2 separate regions of the Homo sapiens genome follow, and region 1 is linked to region 2. The links are contacts of gene promoters, found by promoter capture Hi-C in blood cells and fetal thymus (Javierre and others, 2016). All regions are on one chromosome and are shown on one strand. The core of a region is centred on a gene start or on the middle of the fragment in contact, and the rest is flanking DNA. Distances in the headings are between cores, read along the strand shown. Region 1 holds the start of RAB1B (RAB1B, member RAS oncogene family). Region 2 holds the start of TMEM179B (transmembrane protein 179B).

Region 1 (4,111 bases), core at 1,148-3,647, 3.5 Mb before region 2:
CACCAGATCTTCCCAACAGTCCCGGTCAGGGAGGGCTGATGCCTCCCTCCACAAACAGCTAGCCCAAAGGGCTCTCAGCTTGCTGAGTCTAAATTCTCACTTTATGGAGAAAGAAATCAAGACACGTGACCTGCCAAGGCAACAGAGCTGGGTATCCTAACCTGATTTCTGAAACTTCATGGTTTGGTCCAGTAGGAGCTATTTAGGGAATCCCCAGTACATGCCCTGCGTGTGCCTAGCTTGGCAGAGAAGGCCCCAGAAGTAGAAGCCAGGGCCCAGCCTAGAACCTATTAAGTTGAAAACCCACGTAGAGAGACTGATGGCTGGGTGCTGTGGCGTGTGCCTGTGGTTCCAGCTACTGGGGAGGCTGAAACAGGAGGAGGATCCTTGGAGCCTAGGAGTGTATGACCAGCCTGGGTGATGCAGCACAACCCCGTCTCTCTTTTCTTTTGTTTTTTCGAGACAGAGTCTCGCTCTCTCACCAGGCTGGAGTGCAGTGGCACGATCTCGGCTCACTGCAACGTCCGACTCCCTGGTTCAAGTGATTCTCCTGTCTCACCCTCCAGAGTGGCTGGGATTACAGGCATGCGCCACCATGACTAGCTAATTTTTGTATTTTTAGTAGAGACGGGATTTCACCATGTTGGCCAGGATGGTCTCGATCTCCTGACCTCGTGATCCACCCACCTCGGCCTCCCAAAGTCCTGGGATTACAGGCCTGAGCCACCGCACCCGGCTAACCCCATCTCTTTGGAGACAACAACAACAACAACAACAACAACAACAACAACAACAACAACAAAAACCTGTTATGAAGTCACCAGGAAGAGGTGGTCAAGTTGCAGTGAAAATTGCACTTAAGGCTGGGTGCAGTGACTGACACCTGTAATCCCAACACTTTGGAAGCCCGAGGCACGAGAATCATTTAAGCCCAGGAGTTTGAGATCAGGCTGGGAAACATATCGAGACCCTGTCTTTACAAAAAATTAAAAAATGTGCCAGGTGTGGTGGTGTGCCTCTGTATTCCCAGCTACTCAGGAGGACAAGGCAGGAGGACTGCTTCAGCCCAAGAGTTGGAGACTGCAGTGAGCCATCGTCACGCCACTGCACTCCAGCCTGGGTGACAGAGAGAGACCCTGTCTCAAAATAAAAAAAAAAAAAGGCAAAAGGTAATCACATTTAATATACTTGAGTTCCAACCTGTGGACGGACCCTGTGTGAAGTACTTTAAATGCATCATCTCATTTAATCTTCACAACAGTTCAATGAAGTCAGTTTTGTCATTGTCAACTAATGAGGAAACCAGAGGCCAGAGAAGGGAAGTGACTTGCCCTAACTTACACAGTTTATCGCTTTAAGACTCAAACCAGGTTTCTCAGACTCCAAAGTCCCTTCGAGAGCCTGCTGGTTCCCTTCTCTGTTCCCCTCCCAATCCAGCTCAGAGCTTCACCCTTCCCCAAGGAAATCTGAGACCTGGATGTGGAGTAGAAAAAGGAAGTGGCAGAAAAGGAAGAAGATAACTGATACTTGGGGAAAACTATTAGTCCTGGGCATGAGATGTGGGCCACCTACCCGCAGGGGGAGTGACCAAGAGTGAGGAGAGTTTGAGGACCAGAGAATCCCACAGGAAGGGGGAGAGCAAATTCCATATTCATCTAAACTTCACAGGCAGTGTGACAGCCAAGGGAAGGGGTGTGACGGTGGCGTTGGGGGCCTGAGCAAAAGCGAGGAGAGGGCGGGAAAGGACGGACCGGCGGGAGCGACAGGACAGCGCGACCCAGGCAAAGGGTAGGAGGCAGCCCCGGAAGAGAGGACCTGCGGGAGACGCGACCCAAGCGGCGCTTCGGGGCCTCCCGCGTAGTTGGCTAGCTTCTGGGCCGGCCCCAGGAGCCGGGCTTCAGGAGAAAGAGAAGGGTAGAGGGATTCACTGCCCGACCTAAAGGGCCCAAGCCTGAACCCGAGACCAGAAACTATCAAGACGGGCTCCAAAACTCCGGGACAGTTGTCAAGCAGCAGGTGGGGAAACTGAGGCCTGAAGTGACCGGGACTGCGGGGTCATCTGACCGATAAGGCCTGGTAGGACCGATGTCTCGAGCTCCAAGAGCTGCCCCTGGGGGTCGCCACGTCTGGGCCCCGGGTGCGAGGGCTCGGGGTTTTGAGCCGGGGTCCTGGGGCCCCTGGGGGGAGGGGCAGAACCCGGATGTGGGGGGGGGTCAGCGGAAGAGGGACCCGGATGTGGGGGCGCCGCACAGTCCTGACCCGGGCCAGACAACCCCGGTAAGCGTACAGCCCTGTATTCGGGATCGAGGCTGCGCTGGACGGCGCGGGCGGGGCTCACTCACTATTCGGGGTTCATGGCGGCGGCGGCGGCCCGCTCGGTCGCTCCCAGTCGACTCTGCTCCGCCTCCCGTTCCAAGATGGTGGCCGCTCCGCCCCAGAGGCCCCGCCCGCGACGCGCAGGCGCAAACGTCTTCTTCTCAGGCCTCGCCGCGCTGATTCCCGGAACTTGTAGTCTAAGACGTTCTCCAACTCAGCCCCGCTGCGCAGGCGTAGTCGGGGAGCCCGCGCCTCCGCGCCCACTCCCATCACTGCTGGCGCATTGCCTTCTGGGGCTTGTAGTTTGCACTCCGGACGCACTCAGGCTTGAGGACAGTGCTGGAAAGCCTGACCGCGACTCGGTGTTTAGAAAGCTCAATTTAGGGCTGGGCTTGGCACGTTTCACATCTGTCTGACGGAGGTAGTCATCCTTGCCCTCCCAATACCCACGTTGTGAACATTAAATGAGAATGTGGGTTCTAGTAAGACTAATAAAAGTACATTTGTCCAGGGTTCTTCGTGTACTGGGCAGTCCTAACTCGCAGCCGCGCGTCATCACCCGCATTTCATAGATGAAAAAACTGAGTCTCGGGAAACTCACTCAAGGTCAAAAACTTTGTGAGGAGCAGAGCTCATAAGAGCCCGCGGTCTCCAGAACCCCACAAGTGAGTGTTTTAGGGAAAGCCTGACTTGTGGGCCCCTCACGCAATTCCGGGGTGGGGCACAATATCTGGGCCCAGCTGCGCGGACAGCGGTTGAGCGAGACACACTGTCCCCCACTCACGCACGACCCTTCCCGGCTCCACCCCAGTCTAGAGACGCTGGGGGCCCCCGACCTCCGTCTCAAAACAAGCCCAGCTCAGATTTAAACCGTCTTTATTTCTACAGCAACATCTGAAAATATGAGAGCAGCCGCCTCACCCGCAACAGGGGGAGCCCCTCCTGCCACCAGGGGACCGTCGCCGCCCCTCGCGAGAAGCTGCAGGCGTGGGGGGAGGCGAGGCAGGATGGCTCGGTGGGCGGTGCCCGGGGCGGGGTCGGCCGTGCCTGGGCGGGGCCGGGTGGGAGGGGCAGTGCATAAGGCCGGGATGCGGGGCAGGGCCCGGCGGTGGGAGGACGGACTAAGGGGAGGTCCCCGTCCTGGGCCACGGGGCGATGGCGCGGGTAGGACGCATCCCTCAGAGGCCAGGAGGAGCGCGAGAAGGTCCCAGGACCCCCTTGGGAGGCGCCGCTCCCGAGAATGTAGAGCCTGGGAGATACCACCGCACGGAATGGGGGTGATTAAGGCCTGGGCGGTACCACTAGAAGAGGGACGAGGGGAGGCCCGGGTAGTACCGTGGACTGAAGGGAGGCGCGCGGCCAATAACTTATTTCTCTATATACAGAAGCAACGGCCGGGTTGAGTCGGGAGGGAGGGCGAGGGTGCCGAAGGGCCGGCGAGTGCTTAGTGTTCTTGGCTCTGGGGTCTGGGGAGGCCAGGCCACTGAGTCTATGGTGGAGACTCCAGCCGGCACCTCCTGCTGGCCCGAACCTAGGGAAGAGGGCCCTGCTGGAAGGAATAAATAAGGGATGGAGCTGGAGTGGGCAGGCCCAGCCTCCAGGGCTCAGGCTGAGATGACAAGGGAGAAGGTTACCCTGAGATTGAACAGAAAAGACAGGGGCTGTGGGAGAGACAGGCGGGACAAGCAGCAGGCCCATGCGCAGGGCTGGGGTGAGGGGGGTGTGCCAGGTGGGCGCTCTGGTGACTGGCTGCCCCTTCAGCATTAGCCCACCAGGGAGCTTCGTCGGGAGAGGT
Region 2 (4,023 bases), core at 891-3,390:
GTGCCCAGTGCCCTGTGAGTTGAGAGCAACTGATGGGGATAAAAGGAAATTATAGGACCCCGCTGCAGAGGGAAGGTAGTCAGCCCCAGCCAGGCTTCCCTCCCTCTCCCATTACCTAATTGTAGTGTTCAAGGAGATGATGGAGTTGCAGAGAGACCTGGTGCCAAATCGAAGGATACAGGCAGACACCAAGACCAGGAAGACGGCTATAGCTGAGATGGCCAGTGCAATGCGCAGCCCTATAGCACCTCTGAAAGGGAGAGAACAAGCCTTGTGGTGGAGGTGAGGCTCATCCTACCTCAGCCCCTGGCCCTCAGGGTTAGGCAGTCACCTGTGGGAGTCCTCGATGCAGCTGCTGTAGATCCAGAAGAGCAAAAGCAGGAGGCAGTAGAGGGCCAAGAGGCCAGAGGCCCCAGCTACAAAGTAGCACAGGGATGGTGCTGAGGGACGGGATAAGGCCAGGGAGGAGCCATTCAGGGTGGCCACACCATACAGGGGACATCTACCACTGAAGGAGCCCTGTGGAGAGAAGCTGCTGAGTCCTAGATTTCAGGTTAATGTCTCTAGATACAGTCTCTTGGTAGGGTGTTAGTGATAACTTAGGAATGGTCCTGCATTCCAGGAAGTTATTTGTGCACCGTCAATTCCTATTTCTGGGACAGGGATATTGATGGAGAGGGCCTGCTGGGGAATCACACCGGCAGTGGCCAGAAGGATCAGAAAATAGGCAATGAATATAGAATGCAATGAGCTTCAGAGAAGCCTCACAAGTTATGGTCTCTGTGCAGAAACCTTAGAGTAAACCCAGGCCTTGTATATCCTTCAACAAATAACTATCTGTGAGGTGCTTTTTTTTTTTTTTTTTGCTGGAGTGCAGTGGCGCCATCTCGGCTCACTGCACGCTCTGCCTTCTGGGTTCATGCCATTCTCCTGCCTCAGCCTCCTGAGTAGCTGGGACTACAGGCACCCGCCACCATGCCTGGCTAATTGTTTGTATTTTTAGTAGAGACAGGGTTTCACCGTGTTGGCCAGGATGGTCTTGATCTCCTGACCTCGTGATCCGCCTGCCACGGCCTCCCAAAGTGCTGGGATTACAGGCGTGAGCCACCAGGCCCGGCCAGTGTTTTTGTTTTTGTTTTTGCGATGGAGATTCGCTCGTCACCCAGGCTGGAGTGCAATGGCACGATCTCGACTCACTGCAACCTCCGCCTCCCAGGTTCAAGCGATTCTCCTGCCTCAGCCTCCGAAGTAGCTGGGATTACAGGCATGAGCCACCACACCCGGCTAATTTTTGTATTTTTAGTAGAGACAGAGTTTTGCCATGTTGGCCAGGCTGGTCTCGAACTCCTGACCTCAAGTGATCCGCCTGCCTCAGCCTCCCAAAGTGCTGGGATTACAGGCGTGAGTCACCGCGCCCGGCGGATCTCTGAGGTTTTCTCATGGTGTAAAATAGGCACACTAGTGCCTACTTTATAGGCATTAAATGAACCCATGTTTATTAACCAGATTACCTGGCTGGGGTAAACGATGTAAATTATTGGCTTCTACCTTTACGTCAGCGTTTTCTCCATCTCTCATTTTGTCATTTAACACACTGTGCTACAATCATGTGGCAGCTTGATCATCTCCACTACACTATGCTTTATTTCTCGACAAAGCTCAGCACAAATGGCTTCTGATTTAACGGATGGACGCAGGTTCTGCACTGACTTCTGTTTCGGAACCACAGTAAGGCTGTGCAGCAGGAGCCACGAAACCCGACTCCACCTAGTGCTTTAAGACGCTACTGACCCGTCCCTTTGGCGAGGGGACAACTTCGAAGTATGACCTGGCCAGGAGGAGCCACAAAGCGCGATTAGCCTCGCTGCATTTCAGGTACAGGCCGGCGCCAGCCGTGCCTCACCAGGTCCACCGGCTCCGAGCAGCAGCAAGCCCGGTCGGAAAGCGAAAGTGGCCTCGCCATGTCCAGACCGGCCAGCTCCCCCGCCTACCTGACCCCGCCCCGCAGCCGCACCTGGGTCCGAGTCATCGCCGCGGCCGCCACGGCCCCGCACAGGAAGGCGGCAGCAAAGAGCGCAAGCTCGACGCGCTGCAGCCAGGACAGCGCCATGGCGCCCTGACCACCAGGAAGCGCCGCTGCAGCAGCACCCCGCCCAAAGCCCACCTTATCCGGCGCGACCCACGAAGGTGGAGACGTCATTTCCGGGGGCGGGATTTATTTACAAGGAACGAAGGGGCCACTGACTCAGAGCGGCAAGTACAGCGAGTAGTCCGAGAGCGCCCACCGGCGGGCGGGGCGGCTGGTACGGCCGATCATGGGCAGTTTCTGCACGTAGCGCGAGGCCGGGCTAGGCCCGTACGGCGCGGGGAAGGCAGTCTGGAAAAGGCGCCCGCGGCAGCGCCTCCCAGCCTGCCGCCCGGCTATGATGAAACGAAAGTGCGGGGCGCCGCGCGGGGCGAAACGGCTCTTCTGGAAAACGTCGCGGGTGCCGGTCCCGGGGCCCTGCTGCCGGGGTGCCCCGCGCGCCCGATGCACGCGCGGCAAGGGCCTGCTCTCAGAGGCGGCGGGCCCAGAGGCCGACGCGGGGCCGCCTCCGCCGCTGCCCCGGGGGCTCTCGTCGCCGTGCGGGCTGACTATGGCGCTTGCCGTCAGCTGCGGCATCTTCCGCACCGAGTCCGGGGCTGCCGCCGGCTCCTTCTTGTCCCCGGGCGGCCGCGGAGCCGTGGGTGCAGGCTGGCCGGTGCCAAAGCGTGTGGCCAAGCTGTCACCGAAGAAGGCGTAGAGCTCCCGGTAGATGTCGGCCAGGGTCACCGAAAGAGAAGGGTCCTCCGGCCCCGCGCCCCCTGGCGGCAGCGGGAGGCCGGACCCAAAGCTGGGTTCTGCACCGCCCCCGGAGGACGACTCTTGAAAGAGAAGGCTGTCCCATGGCAGGTCGTCCAGGCGCCGGCACCCCCTGCCACCTGGGCCACCCCTGTTGGGCTCTGCTGCCTGGGCCTTCATCTTCAGCAGTCGCTCTACCGCCACCTGTAAGAGCCAAGGACTAAGATAGGCAAAAAATTCGAGGAACCTGGGCCCATCAAATATTCCAAAGTAAGCCTGCTTGGCTGCTAAGCTCATGCAGGGAAGGGAGGCTGGAAGGGGACGGTACTCACCAGAATGGCTCCATAGACTTTGTGTCCATCTGCTTTGACCTGGGCATTAGATACTGAATAATCATCCAGCACAGCCTGCAAGTTTGTCCAGTAGGTGGACAGGTGTGGGTACAGGACTCGTTCTACTGCCTGGAAGGAAGAGAAGGAATACAGTTAGCATGTCTTTGATACTTATTCCCTCTCAAGGACCCTTTCCCATGAAAGACCTACCTTTATCTCTGATCCTAGACAGGGCTCAATCCTCCTAAATTCCCTGATTGGCATATTCAACCATATATTTATTTGGAACCTACTGTATACCTAAGCTAGGCATTGGGAATAAAGATAAGGTACAAAGGGAGACAATAAAAAATATACCCAATATCACTGCCCTGTGTGCTAAATAATGCTCATTACTGACAACTCCAAAATTTAGTTTGCATACTGCTACCCTATACAATCAGGCAAGTACTGGCTTCACTTAGATGTAAACTGAGACTCAGTTCAAACAATCTGCATAAAAACAACCAACCAGAGACTTGGACTCTGATTATACAATTTAAAATCCTGTGATTGGACAGGCGCTGTGGCTCACGCCTGTAATCCCAGCACTTTGGGAGGCCGAGGCCAGTGGATCACCTGAGGTCAGGAGTTCAAGACCAGCTTGGCCAAGATGGTGAAACCCCATCTCTACTAAAAATACAAAAATTAGCTGGGCGCAGTAGCAGTTGCCTGTAATCTCAACTACTTGGGAGGCTGAGGCAGGAGAATCACTTGAACTCGGGGGGCAGAGGTTGCAGTGAGCCGAGATCACACCACCGCACTCCACCCTGGGAAGCAAAGTGAGACTCCGTCTCAAAAAAAAAAAAAAGAATTAACTATAAGGAAAAT

Evidence for each region. The method cuts DNA at HindIII sites, captures the fragments that hold promoters and counts their contacts. A CHiCAGO score of 5 or more calls a contact.
Region 1: a contact is called between the fragment with the promoter of RAB1B here and the fragment with the promoter of TMEM179B in region 2, in 1 of 17 cell types (activated CD4 T cells). The highest score is 9.0, in activated CD4 T cells.

Annotation. Positions count from the first base shown.
Region 1 is chr11:66,266,925-66,271,035 of GRCh38, reverse strand. RAB1B (RAB1B, member RAS oncogene family) reads right to left here and starts at 2,397. Exons shown (of 6, transcript NM_030981.3): 1 at 2,343-2,397. The coding sequence starts at 2,356. It overlaps KLC2 (kinesin light chain 2), which reads right to left. Exons shown (of 16, transcript NM_001318734.2): 16 at 3,176-4,111. The coding sequence ends at 4,080. It overlaps KLC2-AS2 (KLC2 antisense RNA 2), which reads left to right and starts at 2,625. Exons shown (of 3, transcript NR_186342.1): 1 at 2,625-2,737; 2 at 2,828-2,981; 3 at 3,205-3,487. RefSeq lists enhancers at 1,297-2,178, 2,339-2,668, 2,789-2,838, 3,139-3,188, 3,945-4,111 and silencers at 3,299-3,618, 3,639-3,688. The HindIII fragment of the contact is 6,329 bases long and covers 1-4,111 here.
Region 2 is chr11:62,785,519-62,789,541 of GRCh38, reverse strand. It overlaps TMEM179B (transmembrane protein 179B), which reads right to left and starts at 2,140. Exons shown (of 5, transcript NM_199337.3): 1 at 2,015-2,140; 2 at 332-519; 3 at 116-250. The coding sequence starts at 2,110. TAF6L (TATA-box binding protein associated factor 6 like) reads right to left here. Exons shown (of 11, transcript NM_006473.4): 10 at 3,154-3,282; 11 at 2,200-3,025. The coding sequence ends at 2,246. It also overlaps a transcript of TMEM223 not described here. RefSeq lists a silencer at 2,510-2,619 and an enhancer at 2,870-3,069. The HindIII fragment of the contact is 7,473 bases long and covers 1-4,023 here.